Linked DNA regions of Homo sapiens: regions 2, 3 and 4 are each linked to region 1. Evidence: promoter capture Hi-C in 16 types of primary human blood cells and fetal thymus (Javierre and others, 2016). All regions are on one chromosome and are shown on one strand. The core of a region is centred on a gene start or on the middle of the fragment in contact, and the rest is flanking DNA. Distances in the headings are between cores, read along the strand shown. Region 1 holds the start of REST (RE1 silencing transcription factor). Region 2 overlaps USP46 (ubiquitin specific peptidase 46). Region 3 has its middle 3.2 kb from the start of DANCR. Region 4 overlaps FIP1L1 (factor interacting with PAPOLA and CPSF1).

What was found. The method cuts DNA at HindIII sites, captures the fragments that hold promoters and counts their contacts. A CHiCAGO score of 5 or more calls a contact.
Region 2: a fragment that was not itself captured here is called in contact with the fragment with the promoter of REST in region 1 in 1 of 17 cell types (activated CD4 T cells); the score reaches 6.4 in activated CD4 T cells.
Region 3: a fragment that was not itself captured here is called in contact with the fragment with the promoter of REST in region 1 in 3 of 17 cell types (activated CD4 T cells, fetal thymus and non-activated CD4 T cells); the score reaches 6.4 in activated CD4 T cells.
Region 4: a fragment that was not itself captured here is called in contact with the fragment with the promoter of REST in region 1 in 5 of 17 cell types (fetal thymus, non-activated CD4 T cells, total CD4 T cells and 2 more); the score reaches 16.5 in fetal thymus.

What each region holds. Positions count from the first base shown.
Region 1 is chr4:56,906,131-56,909,736 of GRCh38, forward strand. REST (RE1 silencing transcription factor) reads left to right here and starts at 1,770. Exons shown (of 4, transcript NM_005612.5): 1 at 1,770-2,083. RefSeq lists enhancers at 1,227-2,156, 3,087-3,606 and silencers at 1,253-1,547, 1,647-2,036, 2,147-2,996. The HindIII fragment of the contact is 2,443 bases long and covers 1,315-3,606 here.
Region 2 is chr4:52,655,270-52,658,875 of GRCh38, forward strand. The region is part of intron 1 of USP46 (ubiquitin specific peptidase 46); the gene reads right to left. Among named protein-coding and RNA genes, the nearest start is that of USP46, 2.2 kb to the right of the region's middle. RefSeq lists a silencer at 3,486-3,606. The HindIII fragment of the contact is 2,287 bases long and covers 450-2,736 here.
Region 3 is chr4:52,707,410-52,711,015 of GRCh38, forward strand. No RefSeq gene overlaps it. Among named protein-coding and RNA genes, the nearest start is that of DANCR, 3.2 kb to the right of the region's middle. The HindIII fragment of the contact is 5,324 bases long and covers 1-3,606 here.
Region 4 is chr4:53,379,132-53,382,737 of GRCh38, forward strand. FIP1L1 (factor interacting with PAPOLA and CPSF1) reads left to right here. Exons shown (of 18, transcript NM_030917.4): 3 at 94-133; 4 at 3,147-3,204. Among named protein-coding and RNA genes, the nearest start is that of FIP1L1, 3.3 kb to the left of the region's middle. The HindIII fragment of the contact is 210 bases long and covers 1,805-2,014 here.

The sequences.
Region 1 (3,606 bases), core at 520-3,019:
ACAAGAGACATTTCATTTTTGCCTTTTTGGACCTAAAAAAGGGAAAGAAAACAAGTTTATGTCTTTGACAACCTTGGTAGAGGCCTGAATTGTACCCTGGGCTACAGCATCTAAAAAAGCCATGTGACCTCAAACTTGATTTTAGTTAAACAAATAAAATATATATAGAAAAGTTTGTACCAGTCCTAAAAATGTCGATCTTCCTTTCCTCCCTCCCTCCCTCCCTTCCTTCCTGTCTCTTTGGTTCAATGAAAATGAATACTTTTCAGGTTTGATTCATGGAGAGGTGTTACATTTGAAATTGCCTCATTGAAACTTTTGGTGGTCGAGCACCTTAGGGTCTTCATTTCATCTTGCATCGGAGACTGCATTAATTAGTAATATATTGTCCAGATAGAGGGAAACAGAGGTCCTACGTGGGTATACCAGGAAATGAAGAGTCTGGAAGCCCTGCCCTAAGAGAAACAAATAAAGGAACTTCAAAGAGAAGGAAGTGAGGTACCCTGAGGAGAAGCTGGGATGTCTTAACAACTGCTTTGGGATTTTGAGCTTGCCCTTTTCACTGTGTAGAGTGTTCCTTGCCCTACTTTCCACCTGTTGAAGTTTTCCTCATTCTCCAAGGTCAGACTGAATACATCTACTGTGAAAAGTTTCTAGAACCTCTTGGGATCCATCTTCCTACTGGCAAACCCCCATAGCACTTGCTACTTATGTTGTAATACCAAGCAATAGTCAGACTTATCTAGGTCAAGTTAAGTAGGGGCTTGAACGCCACACTAAGGGGTTTAAGCTTTAAGCTTGTAGTCATGGGGAGCCACTATGCTTCTGAGGACAGGTGTGACTTACGACTGACGTTTAGGAAGGTATCAAAGGCAGACTGAGAAGCTCTTTCAGGTGTGAAAGGGGGTGGAATTACTCTCTCTCTGTTCTTTTTTGTTGTTTTTGTTTTTGTTAGCACATGACTATGGGCTAGGCATTCCGCTTGGTTATCCCGCTTCATAGACGTGAGCCCGGTTACTCCGACACACCGTGGCCCCAGGCAGCCTCCCCGTCCTCACCACCTTTTCTTCTGTCATCTGAGGGTAATTCCTCCCCTGCAGTCGTGCTTTCCGGGCTCAGCAATGACCTGCTACCTGCCACGTCTAGGGATCTGTCCCCTCAGTCCTCACGCTCACGCTTTCTGAGTCCATAACCTCCTTCCTGAAACGTTTTCTTCTCACTTCTCCCAAACTGACTGCATTCCCCCTCCGGTAGTTTGAAATTTGGAAGACTTTTTTTTTTTTTTTTTTTTTTTACCGCAGACGCTTAAAACGAAGCTTAATTAGTCAAGGACAGCTATGGGTGGAGACTTGAAGAGATCTGAAGGGTATCTTGGAGCGCTTTAGACTTGAGAGGCCGGTGACAATAGCTCTAAAGAGACCCGTCAAAGCCTGCGGATTCTTCTTTTAACAGCTCTATTCTCATGCATGCACGCCAGGGCTGGGGGGAACTTTTGTTGTTTGTTTGTAATAGAAATCGAGAAAGGGAGTGGGGCCCGCCTCTTTTCTGACCTAAGGGCAGGAGTGAGGGGCCGGGAGGATTACGGGCGGCTCCCCCTAGACGCGCCCCCAGGCGAGCTGGAGACTGGGGCACTCCTTGCTTGGTAGAGGGGCGGGGCGCGCCTAGCGGCCACGCGCGCGGGCGTCGGAGGGGGCGTGTCTCGCGGGCGCGCGCGGGCGTCGGAGGGGGCGTGTCCCGCGGGCGGTGGCGGCGGCGGCGGCGCGGACTGGGTGCGCGGCGCAGCGTCCTGTGTTGGAATGTGCGGCTGCCGCGAGCTCGCGGCGCAGCAGCGGAGCGAGCGCCGCCGAGGCCCGGGGCCCCAGACCCTGGCGGCGGCTGCCGCAGCCGAGACGGCAGGGCGAGGCCCGGAGGCCTGAGCACCCTCTGCAGCCCCACTCCTGGGCCTTCTTGGTCCACGACGGCCCCAGCACCCAACTTTACCACCCTCCCCCACCTCTCCCCCGAAACTCCAGCAACAAAGAAAAGTAGTCGGAGAAGGAGCGGCGACTCAGGGTCGCCCGCCCCTCCTCACCGAGGAAGGCCGGTAAGTGGGGCGCTGGGCTGGGGGCTCGGTCAGGGTGGGGGAGGGCCGCCCGGGCGGCGGCAGTGGCGGGACGGGGAGGGCGCGGAAGGACGCGGAGTCAGGCGCTGTCCAGGGCTGATTTGCAGATACTGTGGCTCCGGCGGCGGCGGCCCCGCCGGGCGGGGGCTGGCGGCCGAGCAGGATCGGGTTACACAGCAGCCGCCCGGGGGCTGGGGGCGTTTGTTGGGAGCAGCGCGTCGCCTGGACCCCCTCCCCACTGGAGGCTGGGACGCCGCCTCCGCGCTGGCCCGGACGCTCCACCGAGTCAGGTCCTTTGAGGCCAAGGAGCGGAGCTGCTCGGGCCCGTAGTCCTGAAACTTCCTCTGCTTCCTCCTCCTGCCCCCGGGTCCCACCGCAGCCCCGCGCCGGCCCGCGGCCCTCCTGGCCCCCTCCCCCAGGGCCTCTCCCTGTCGCCGGAAGGCGCCGTTGAGTGCGGCCGGGCGGGTTGAGTCAGCCCCGGGGCCCGGGCGGTTCCGCCTGCGGGGCTGGACAGCGATTTCTGCGCTTCAGCCGTCCGGCGCCGCTGGCCCCCGCGTCCGGCCACCCGACCGCTGGAGCTGGCGGGGCTGGGGCGCGCGTCCTGCCGGGCGCCGTGGGGGAGTGAAGTTCGCAAACTTCCGGGGCGCGGGGGTGGCGGCTGGCCCGTGTGGGGGCCCCCTCCGGCGCTCGGAGCCCGACGCCTCGCGAGGGCGCCCGCGGAGCCTCCCCGGCCCTGGGCGTTGGGCGAGCCCCGGGGCGGTCGGAGGGGCCCGGGGGCGGTCGGAGAAGCCCGGACGCCGGCTGCGCGGTAACTTTCCGTCCTCTCCCGGGACGGGGGCCCTAGGGCTGGGGAGGGGGCTGCCTGGACTCGGGGAGGACTGGTTCCGGCCAAACAGCGCCTCGAGCTTGATCCCCTCCCCCGTTTTAGTGTTGGAGAGCGCAGGAAAAGGCTCAGGACGAGTGTCGGGGCGACTCCCGCGAGTTGGTGTGTAAATGTGTGCAGTGAGCGGGCCGAGGCGAGAGGAAGCGAGAGCGCCCGAGTTTGCAAAGAGCTGCTTTGTGTTTGGTATTTTGAGAAAATGGCCGAATGCCTATTTCAGTTAGGAATGCCGCCGCCGAGGCAGGCGCTGGTGGCAGCAGCACGGAGGAATTCGTGCAGCACGTTGGGCTTTCGGGCTGTGCCTGGACGGTCTTCCTAACAATCGTTAAAATTCCATTTGGGGTGGCAGTTAGGGGTTAGGGAGCAATTAGAAAAGTCGATGTTGGGCCAAATTACCCAATAGCTTGGGCTGTTCAGCCCCGGGACAGCCTTCGCCCTCTGTTTTCTGTGATGGCATTTGCTTCCAACTTTTGTTGGTACGTAGAACTAAACCGGTTTGTGTTTATACACTTGGGTGAAGCGGGTTACTTTTTGTATTTTCGGTTTAACTTTATTTTCTTAGAACTTCTTACTTTTTTTAATTTGCGAGTGAACACTTCGTTTGAGAATGGCACCTTTTAGATTG
Region 2 (3,606 bases), core at 343-2,842, 4.3 Mb before region 1:
GAGCCCCTTGGGGACAGGGACTCACCTCATTCATTTATTAAGCACTTGAGTATAGTCTGTGCCAACACCAACATAGCAGGTCCTCAACAGATGGCCATTTATCGGAACAAAACTCGTAATCATTTGATACACAGCATTTTCTCAGAGGTACATCTTACAGCATTATTAACAAATGAAATAAGATTAGATGATCTGAAGCAACTTGCATTGGTATGTCACATTTGGTTTCTTCTAACTAATGCTTCCTTTTTAGAAAATTTCTCAAGCTCTTCAAATAGGAAACTTAAAAAACCCAAAAACAAAAACTTTCCATTTGCAGGGCCATAAAAATATATAGGAAGTTAAATCCATTGGTCTGGACAAAAATCAGAGGATTATCAACAGAAGACATTTCCTCATGCTTGGTAGCAGCTAGTGCATTATGAAAATTACAACACACCAGCCAAACAAGCTTTACTATCTCTGAACCACACACTGCTGTGTGGCCAAGCTGCCTTGCCCTGAGCAAGTTCATCAAGAATTACCATGGCAGGAATTCACATGGAAGAAAAATTAAAACAAATAGAAACTAGTACTAAACTTCCAGTGAACAATAAAACTTCAGCAAGTGGGTGGGTAAGTGGAGGAATGAAGATATTTTCCAAGTTTCCTATAACTAAAACTGGCACAAGAAGTATGGGGAAAAGAGGGGATGTTTAGTTCTCAATCACACGAAGTATCTGCTACAAATTTGATTTCTGCTCTGCTGGGTCCTTTCTTATCTGGTGGAGGAAACAAATCCACTTTCAATGATAGATCTTCGTTTTTTCCTGTTACCCAGAAAAATGGTACCTTCTAATATCCTTTCTGAACACATATCAGCCTGTTCAAAATATGTTAAACGATGTGCTTAAGAAAAAAATGCAATCACCATTTGCTCTTACTACAACTACTCAAACCAGCTGGGACCAAAGTTAGGAGCGGGAAGGGTCAGTAAGAGGCCCACAGAGGAGCTAAGCAGTGAGAAGGGACCTGTAAGACACCTACCTGAAAACAATTCATTATTGAGCAAAGAATCTAAAGAGAGGTCCAGTTAATATTTACGTCTGATCCAGTGAAAAGACAGCAGTTTCCTCATACCCAGCCTTCTCCTCTGGGAAGGAAGACTGGGAGGGACAGTGGGGGCGGTGGGTGGGGGATTGACCTGAGCAGGGGGCGGGGTTAAGGATTCCCACTCCAGCCTTCCTATACATGGGAGGTGTTTATATTAGTGGTTGCTTCCACCAGGTCTGAAATGGCATGATCTCCACTGTCCCTTAAACACCTGGTAGATGACATAACAATGAGAAAGATGATGTTGACAATGACACTCACTGAGTTCTAGCCATGTACCAGGCCCTGTGCCCGAGTAATACAACAATATTAACATCACCTTTTGGTAGATAAGGAAAGTCTAAGACCGGACAACTTGTTCAAGGACACAAAGCCAACATGTGTTAGAACCAGGACCTGCCGGGTATGGTGGCTCACGGCAGTAATTTGGCGCTTCGGGAGGCTGAGGTGGGAGGACCACTTGAGCCCAGGTATTAGGGACCAGCCTGGGCAACATAGGGAGACCCAGTCTCTATGGAAAATTTAAAAATTAGCCAGGCATGGTGGCACGTGCCTGTAGTCCCAGCTACTCAGAAGGCAGAGGTGGGAGAATCACTTGAGCCTGGGAAGTGGAGGCTGCAGTGAGCCACCATGTTCATGCCACTGCACTCCAGCCTGGGTGACAGTGTGAGACCTTGTCAAAAAAAAAAAAAAAAAAAAAAAGAACCAGGACCTGAACCCAGGAAGTCTGACATTAGAACCCAAACTCTGTCACTCTCTAGACATGGCGTCTAAATACAACATCAGACTCCTTACTTAATGAATTACTGGTTCCTCACTTCATCTGGGTGATGGTCCTAAATTTGGTACCTTTTTAGGTCTCCACCTGAGATGTCAACTCTCAGGGCAGTATTGGCCTGCTCCTCTCAGGTCCTCCCCACACCCTGTCTCCCTGACTGAGTTTCACTGAAACACGTTGTGACATTCAGCCCAGGTGTGCCAGAAAGCCCCCGCAGCACTGAGGGTGGGTGGGGGGACGCGTGGGGGGAGGTTGGGGGCTGGCTTCCTCTAGGGGCATGCTAGCTCTCAAGTTTCCAGCCTGCTTCTACACAGAGAGGTGTAACCACACACAAGCAGGACAAGAACACCACCAAGGGCTGGGTCGGAGCCTCACTACCCTGTAGTATCCTTAGGCCTGCGGCCACACCAACAGACATAAAAGAGTATTCAAGCTGCTCCCGATTCACAGTTCCCTCAGGAACTGGTCGTAGGAGAGAAACTGAGAAGGCATCACCTCTTCACAAGCAGCCCCTCCACAGGAATAAGAGGAAATCTGACTCCTCGCAGAGAAAGGAAAAAAAGAGAAAACAGAAAGGCTCTAGGATCCACTCCCCGTATGGAACTCGCCCGGCACCAACCAGTACCTGTGCAGCTATCACTCTGGGAGGCCCCAGCATTTGCTTTGCTGGCCGTGACAGTGGCACGTCCCATTGTGCTGAAAGCTGAAGCCAGCGGGTCTCAATTCCACCCCTGAGCTAACACAAGGCTTCTTAATGCTCCTTTGCCATGTGTTGATCTTGCAACAGAATGTGGGACAGAAGATTTAAAAAGCTATGTGATGGGGGAAGGGCAGCCAGATCACCTTACACCAGGGCTTCTCCATCAAGCTTCCTTGGATTCCCTTTAGGGGCCAGTATTACTAGCTTCAAGGGAGGTTTTCCTCAAACTGGCACTGTAAGAGCACGTGTTGCCTCCGGGGACCCGCTTGGGAGGGGGCTAGAGGGGAGGCGGGGTGCAGTCTAAAGAATGTAGGCAAAACACACATCATCTCACCCTGCAAGGGACAGCAATGCCTTACTCCAATCTGAGCTCCCCAAAGGCTCTGACAAGTGGAGGCGCCAGCAGGGTCCAGCCTGGGGACCCAAGGGCTGGAGGTTCTTCCTACAGAAAAAGGGAAAGCAATGGGGGAAACCCAAATTAAAGTGACCACCGCATCATGGGCTCGGACTGCATCAGAACCCAGTGATGTCCCTGGCTGTATCCATGCCCGCCAGCCTCCCCTAGGTCTACAGCGGATCAGGCAGGATAACCCTGGAGACCTCCTCCAAGCCCACAGCCCGCCCCACCCTTAGGGCCTGCAAATATTACCGCCACAGAGCCTTGTCCCTTTTTCACAGATGGGGAAACTGAGGCATGCGGAGCAAATTACGGTGCTTTTTCAAACCAGGTTGAAGTTCACTTCTCCAGCCACAATTTTGCACTTTTTTTACAGCTTTATTACATTTCCGATTTCTCCAGATACACAATTGCTATTGCAAAGTGAATTTTAAACACCTCGGAAGGACTGAACTCAAAATGAGATGAGGGCAGTCTGGACGTCCAATAAGGCTGTCTTGACCGCAAGAAGAGGATGGGTGCCCCCCACCTCCAGCTTATCCCCCACCCCCTCCCCGGGGACGTTCAGGTTCGGTCGCTTCCCTTCCCTCAAGCCGCTTCCACCGCAACCCGAGGGCGGGGGGCGCAGCAGCGCGGCCC
Region 3 (3,606 bases), core at 656-3,155, 4.2 Mb before region 1:
GCTTTTTGGGCCTTACCCTACCACCAGAACTCTATACCCTATAACTGACTTCCACAGCTGAGCACACTAAGATCTGCAGAAATTGCATCCCATAGCTCAGCAAAACACATTTTGCCATGAATTTAAAATAACCTCTCAGGTAATTGTCATCTTTTTTTCAGTAAAGAAAAAATTGCCAAAATTTAGAAAAGAAATACAATAGCCAAAAAATGAAAACATTCGTTCTTAATAGAATATTTGATAGAACAAAACCTTGATGCTAAGGACCAAACGAGATGTCATCTGAGTCACCCAACATATCCATATACTTCTGCAGATGCTTCTAGTGATTCCAGGTGACCTTCTCTGTACACCTAAGGCCCCTTTTCAGACTCCAGCCCTAGCTAGGAGTCAGGCAGGGGATGGAGAAGAGGTGATTGTCGTGGTGCTAGGACCATGTCTGCTGTGGGGGTGGGAGGGTAGACACAGGAGACAGCAGTGGAGGCATCACAAGAGATCATTCTTCTGCTTTCAGGTTGGTTGTTGCCTATGCCATGCCTACTGCCCGCTCTTGTGTTGTAGACAAGGGAGTGTCTCTAACTGTGGAAGGTGGGGGCTCTCCTTTTTTGTAAAACGCTATACTTTATTCCGATATCGTGTTCTTGAAGTTACTTACAAAAGGCTAATATAGCCCTTATTTTGTTTTCTGTAATGAAAATTATTATATCAGTAATACATGCTCTTTGTAAAGAATTTGAATGATACCTCAAAAATATTTTTAGAAAGTAAGACACATGAAATCCCATCACCTTGAGAGAAATACCACTGACATTGTAGTAACCATATTTTCACACACACACACACACACACACACACAAACTATACTTGTACATGTATATACATAGAATACTATACATATATACATACTATACTATAAATATATACATAGTATGTATGTATTTATATTATATAGCTACATACATATAGTTATTTAAGATTACAAGATACAAGTGGTTTTATCATAGATATTTTCTCCTTCCCTCTCACTCCTCTCCCCCATATCCTTCATCCCCTACCCTCTGGATTACCATATTAACAGCAGGTTGTGAGTGTAGATAGGTCTAGGGATAAGTAGGAGTTAAGGAAAAAAGAACAGGTGACAGGCAGCCCAGACGAAGAGAACACCACATGCAAAGGCAAGGAAGCAAGAGCTTATTAGAGCTGTGGCTCTTGAAACTTTAATGTGCATACAGATCACCTGGGGATCTTGTTGAAATATAGATTCCGAATCAGCAGATCTGGGATGAGGCCTGAGATTATGCATTACTACAAGTTTCCAGGGAATGCCCAGGCTGATGGACCACGCTTTGAGAAGCAAGGATGTAAACTATTGTGCAGTTCAATGTAGTATCTACCAGCCACATGTGACTTTTATTTTTATCTATTTATTTATCTTAGATGTCTTGCTCTGTCACCCAGTCTGGAGTGCTGTAGTGCCATCATAGGTCACTGCAGCCTTGAATCCTGAGCTCAAGTGATCCTCTTGCCTCAGCTGCCTGAGTAGCTGGGACTACAGGCCTGTTCTGCCATGCTTGGCTAATTTTTTTTTTCTGTAGAGATGGAGTCTTGCTATATTGCGGCAGCTGGAGTGCAGTGGCTATTCACAGGCACTGTCTGAGCACACTGCAACCTCAAACTTCTGGCCTCAAGGGATCCTCCCACCTCAGACTTCTGCCCACGTAGCTGGGATTATAGGCATACCACCACCAGGCCCAGCATGACTATTTAAATTTAAATTAGTTAAAAGTAAATGAAGTTTAAGATCCAGGTCTTGTGTTGTGCTAGTCACATTTCAAGTACTCAATAGCCACATGTGGCTACCATACTGGACAGCAGAGATATAGAACATTTCCATCACTGCAGAAAGTTGTATGGGAGAGTGCTGGACAGCATTCAGGGGACTGCCATTAGTTCAGCATGGTTGGATTATAATAGGTATGTGGGAAGTGAGAGGAGGAAGTAGATAGGTGGAGGTTGGTTTTGTTTCTGGTGGCAGTAAAGAGCCATTTAACAATTTCCAATGGAGATGACAGCAGTGTGGAAGAATTCATGGGGAAGGGAACACTGGAGACAGGGAAGCTGAATGAAGGTGGAGGCTACTGCAGTGGATGATGCTGAAAGTAAATGATGGAGCTAGAACTAAAGTACAAGCAAGGGCTGGAAAGAAGAGGCAGAGTCATGGTGGTCAATAGGAAGAACTGCCCGCATGGAAGAAGATGAGGAAGTAGGAGGCTGAGAAATGGAGGAGGAGACTGAGAAAGGAAAGCATTTGCGCTAAGTCCTGGACAGCTGGGCTAAGGAATTGTTATTCTTCAAGACAGAGGACACAAAAAGGAAGTGGAGGGGTGGAAGAAGAGAATAAATTCTGGGCCAAAAGAGTGATTTTGTGGTGTCTCTGGGAAATCCAGCTGAGAATATCTGGAGGGCTGGTGGGTATTCTTCTAGGTCCCTTTATTCAACTTCCGACAGATTAAATTTGGAGAGACTGAACTCCCTCAAATTGGACAGATTGGCCAGTCGTGGTGGCTCACATCTGTAATGCCAATGCTTTGGGAGGCTGAGGTGGGAGGATCACTTAAGCCTAGGAGTTGGAGCCTGACCCGTGAGCTATGATTGTGCCACTGCACTCTAGCCTGAGTGATAGAGTAAGACCCTGTCAAAGGGAAAAGAAAGGGAGAGGGAGAGAGACGAGAGAGAGAGCAAGAAAGAGAGAGAGAGAGAAAAGAAAAGGAAGGAAGGGAGGGAGGGAGGGAAAGAAAAGAAAGAAAGAAAAGAAAGAAAGAAGGATTGATTAGACATACTAATTTCTCTAAAAAAATTAGGCCTAATAATAAACCCAATTGAAACAATTCTCTTTAAACTGCATTATAAGGATTTTTAGTACCAAATATATATTATCTTGAACCTAACTCAAAAGCAATTATAAATCAGTTTATTTTGTTCTATTGTCTCTGTATTTAATAGACATTTCTCCTCTAAGCCCAGTGAACAGTTTTACTATTTCGAATGAACTGTTTGTAAGTTCATTGAATTGAGGTATTTGGCCAGAAATGTGAAGCCTTCAGATTAAGGTGAATTTCTCTTAAATCAAACACAAATATAATTCTTTCATAATTCCTTCCCATTTTTATCCCCTGATTTGGGGAGGAGGGAAGACATTCTGCACAACTACCCCCAGCCCCTGCTAGGTTGCTGCTGAATTCCTGCATTAGTCTCTTTACTAAGGAGATTTACTTCTCTTTTCCTATATTTTCCCATGTTGCCTGACCACATGCATTGCCATAGTTAAAGGAAAGGTAATATCTCTCAGCTATCCAAAGGGACTATAAAAAGAACAGATTCCAACTAGAGATATGTTTGGAAGACTCTTGAGAAAGGTGAAGGGACAACAAACTGGTATTCACTCTCCAATTTCAACAAGATCCTATGAATATCTGCAAGATGATGACTAGGTGCTAGGGTTTATTGGTAAATTTTACTCAACTTCTTCTTCCCACCAAAACCACCTTAATCACACCCGAAACCACACCCTACATCAGATCCTATCATTCCCCTGTTAAAACACAC
Region 4 (3,606 bases), core at 660-3,159, 3.5 Mb before region 1:
TGATCACTTCAGATTTTCATAATACTAGTTTCTTTAAGAGTGGTTTCTTTATTTTGTTTGCTTATTTATTTATTTGTTTATTTTACTTGGTAGATGAAAATGAAGTTGAAAGGCCAGAAGAAGAAAATGCCAGGTTAGTGAAATTTTCTGTTGATGCCTATTACACAGGTTGTGTGAAACAATGGTTCTGTCAGTTGTCAAAATTATTTTCTTACAATCATTGGCTTCATTACAACACTGACTTACAACATTTTGGAGGACATTGAATCCTTTAAGGATTATTCCAGTTTCAGGACCTAATCTTACGCCAATTCTATTTGTTGGTAGTTTAAAGGACAAAGTTTTTGAACTTAGGATTGGACTGATTTTACACTGTTAAGTAACTTGTTACTCTTAAGTGAATTCAGTAGTGAAGTATACAGTATAATCGTTAAGCTACTGATAAAAATATTTTAACTTAATTGAAAATGTTTTTAAGTAAATCAGGAACACTCCAAACTACTGCTTTTCCAGTTTATTAACATTTTTGATGATATAATGGCAGTTTGGTTGTAATTTCAATGCTATGTATTGTTTGCATTCAAAATGTAATTAGCTGATTTGTTATAAGGTTGATTTCTTTGTTAGATTGTAAGAAAGATGTAAGTGTTCATTTATAGAACATATACAGGGAGTCAGAATTTTACCCCAGATTTCAAAAAGCAAGCCATGTAAAGAAGTACATGGAGATGTCGGCTTTACCCTGACCACATGCATTAGTGTCTGTAATGGAGGGAGAGGTAGTTAGAAGATTTTAAGGAATATTTGGGTTTAAAAAGTGGAAGATATACAACTTCATACCGAGTAAGCTGCAATCGAAAAGATAAAACAGGTGTTAGTGAGGATATGGGGAAATAAAACCCTCATACACTTCTGGTGGGATTGTAAAATGGTGCAGCTGCTTTGAAGAACAGCCTGGCCATTTTCTCAAATGGTGAAACATGGAGTTACCATGTGAGTCCTCCACCTTAGAGGAATGAAAACATATTCAGACAAAAACTTGTACGTGAATATTCATAGCAGCATTATTCTTAATAGAAAGTGGAAAAAGAAAACCTCGCAGCTGCATCAACTGATGAATGGATAGATTAAATGTGTTATATCCATACAGCGGAATATTATTTGGCAAGGACAATAAAATGAAGTACTGGTAGATGTTACAACACGGATGAACCTTACAAATGTGGAAGCTAAAGATGTCAGTCCGTAGAGACAGATTAGTGGTTACTAAGAGTTGGGTGAGTGATTGCTAATGTATACAAAGTTCCTTTTGGGAGTGATGCATACATTCTGGAATTAGATAGTTGTGATGGTTGGACTATGTGACCATATTAAAACTCAGTTGTCCTGTTTGAATGGGTAGATTGTATAATATGTGAATTGCATCTCAAAGCTGTTACAACAAAAAATGGATAGAGGGAAAAAGTGAGAAATGGAAGTAGAAATAGCTTAGGAGGAGCTGAAACTACAGTTCAGCTTCCTTACCCAAAAAATCCCCTATAGTCTTTTCACTCATTGGTATATTATCTGAAATGTTATTTCATTTTAAAATTTATATATTCAACTCAGTTCCTAATTCTGATCTCAACCACAAAGTTGAGATTAGTTTTAGTTTATGTTATGAAAGTGATTGAATATTTCTTTGTACCCATTCCTTCAGTTGGTCAAGAAATTAATTACAGGTATAGTTTTACAATCAAATATACTTTTCTATATGATAATCTTTATCCCATTAATTTTTATTTTTATTGGTTACAATTTTAAAAGCTTACTTTCTAATCAAACATTCTTTAATTTTAATTCCGCAATACACAACTTGCTAAAATTTATTGGAGGGAACCTTCTACCTTCCCTGAGTGTCACTGTCAACATAGCTTTATATTCCTTTCTGCAACTTCATTTGGGGAGCCGTTGAGTTGATTTCATCCTATGGGGGAAAAAACAATTTCCTTTACAGTGTTATTTTTCTAGAAAAAGCTTAAAATTTTATCATGTTTCTAACATTTTAATGGTGATAGAAAATTAAAACTTCCAAAAGAGTAGGCCTATTGAAGAAAGGTACTCTGCCAGACCTACTGCTATCTGGCTTGGTACATCATTGCATTGCTCTACCAAAGTTCCTGCTATTAGAATTTGCCCGTTTCCTACTGACTGGCTCATTGCTGAAGCCTCTGTTTTTCTTAAACATTGCATTGCAGTCTCCAATTGTGTTATATCTATCCAAGTTTTGACTAAAGAAGGGATACTGTTTTGTGACGTAGAAAGCAAATGGGACTTGCTTCTGGCTACCTAGAAGCTTATTTCAGCAGGAGGTAAATGTACTGAACAATTATAGCTGCATATTTGTTTTCTTGAAGCAAGCAGTAGAACAATGAAAATATAACAGTTATGTTTTGACTTTTTATCTTTCATTTTGCTTTATTTGGTGATTGTGCTATAAAATGCCACTGTAAAGATCAAATTGATTTAGGATAATTAAAATTGATTAAGTTTGTCATATATTTTTAAAATGTGTAAAAAGCTTGAATTATAGCCCACCATCAAATTATAAATCATTAATAAACTGTGAAGGCATTTGCATTCTTTTTTTTTTTTTTTTTTTTTTTTGAGACAGCATCTCACGCTGTCGCCCAGGCTAGAGTGCAGTGGCATGATCACTGCAGCCTCACTGCAACCTCTATCTCCTGGGTTCAAGCAATTGTCTGCTTCAGCCTTCCGAGTAGCTGGGATTACAGGTGCCCGCCACCATGCCTGGCTAATTTTTTTTTTTTTGTATTTTTAGTAGAGACGGGGTTTTACCATCTTGGCCAGGCTGGTCTTGAATTCCTGACCTCGTGATCCACCCACCTCAGCCTCTCAAAGTGCTGGGATTACAGGCATGAGCCTCCACGCCCAGCCTGGCATTTGCATTCTACTTACAATGTTGAGTACTTGTCTTCTGCAAGTTACTAGAAATAACGGAATAAGACAGTCAGATTTTACCATTACTGTCTCCAGTGGAGACAATAATTTTAGGAGCTTTATTAAAGCTTAGAAATACTAATATAATCTATCTGTACTTCCGAAAAGTAATGCCTGACATGTATACTTACTTTTGTTGTTTGTAGTGCTAATCCTCCATCTGGAATTGAAGATGAAACTGCTGAAAATGGTGTACCAAAACCGGTAACATAAGGCTTTGAAATCCAGTTACTGATACAAATCTTTATCAATAGCTTCACAGTTTACATAGAAAGCAAGCTGGCATTTTACATTACCTTCAGTATCAGGTGTTATCTGGCCCTTTCTTACATCTCCTACTTCATCTGGTGCCATCAAAAACATATATAGGAATTAAAATGAGGAAAAGAAATAGTAGAAAGACTGCAGAGGAAAATAGTATGTGCAAAGGCTTGATGTTTATTGCTTTCAAGGAATTGAATGGTTATAAATCTACTGAATATAGTGAGCCTGGTTTTCAGAGCAAGTTTTGAGCCCACAACCTTTCACTGTTACGATTTTTTAACGTTGCTTTTTAATGTATGTGACAGTCCCTGACTGCATGCCTGCATGCCATTGATACTTTGT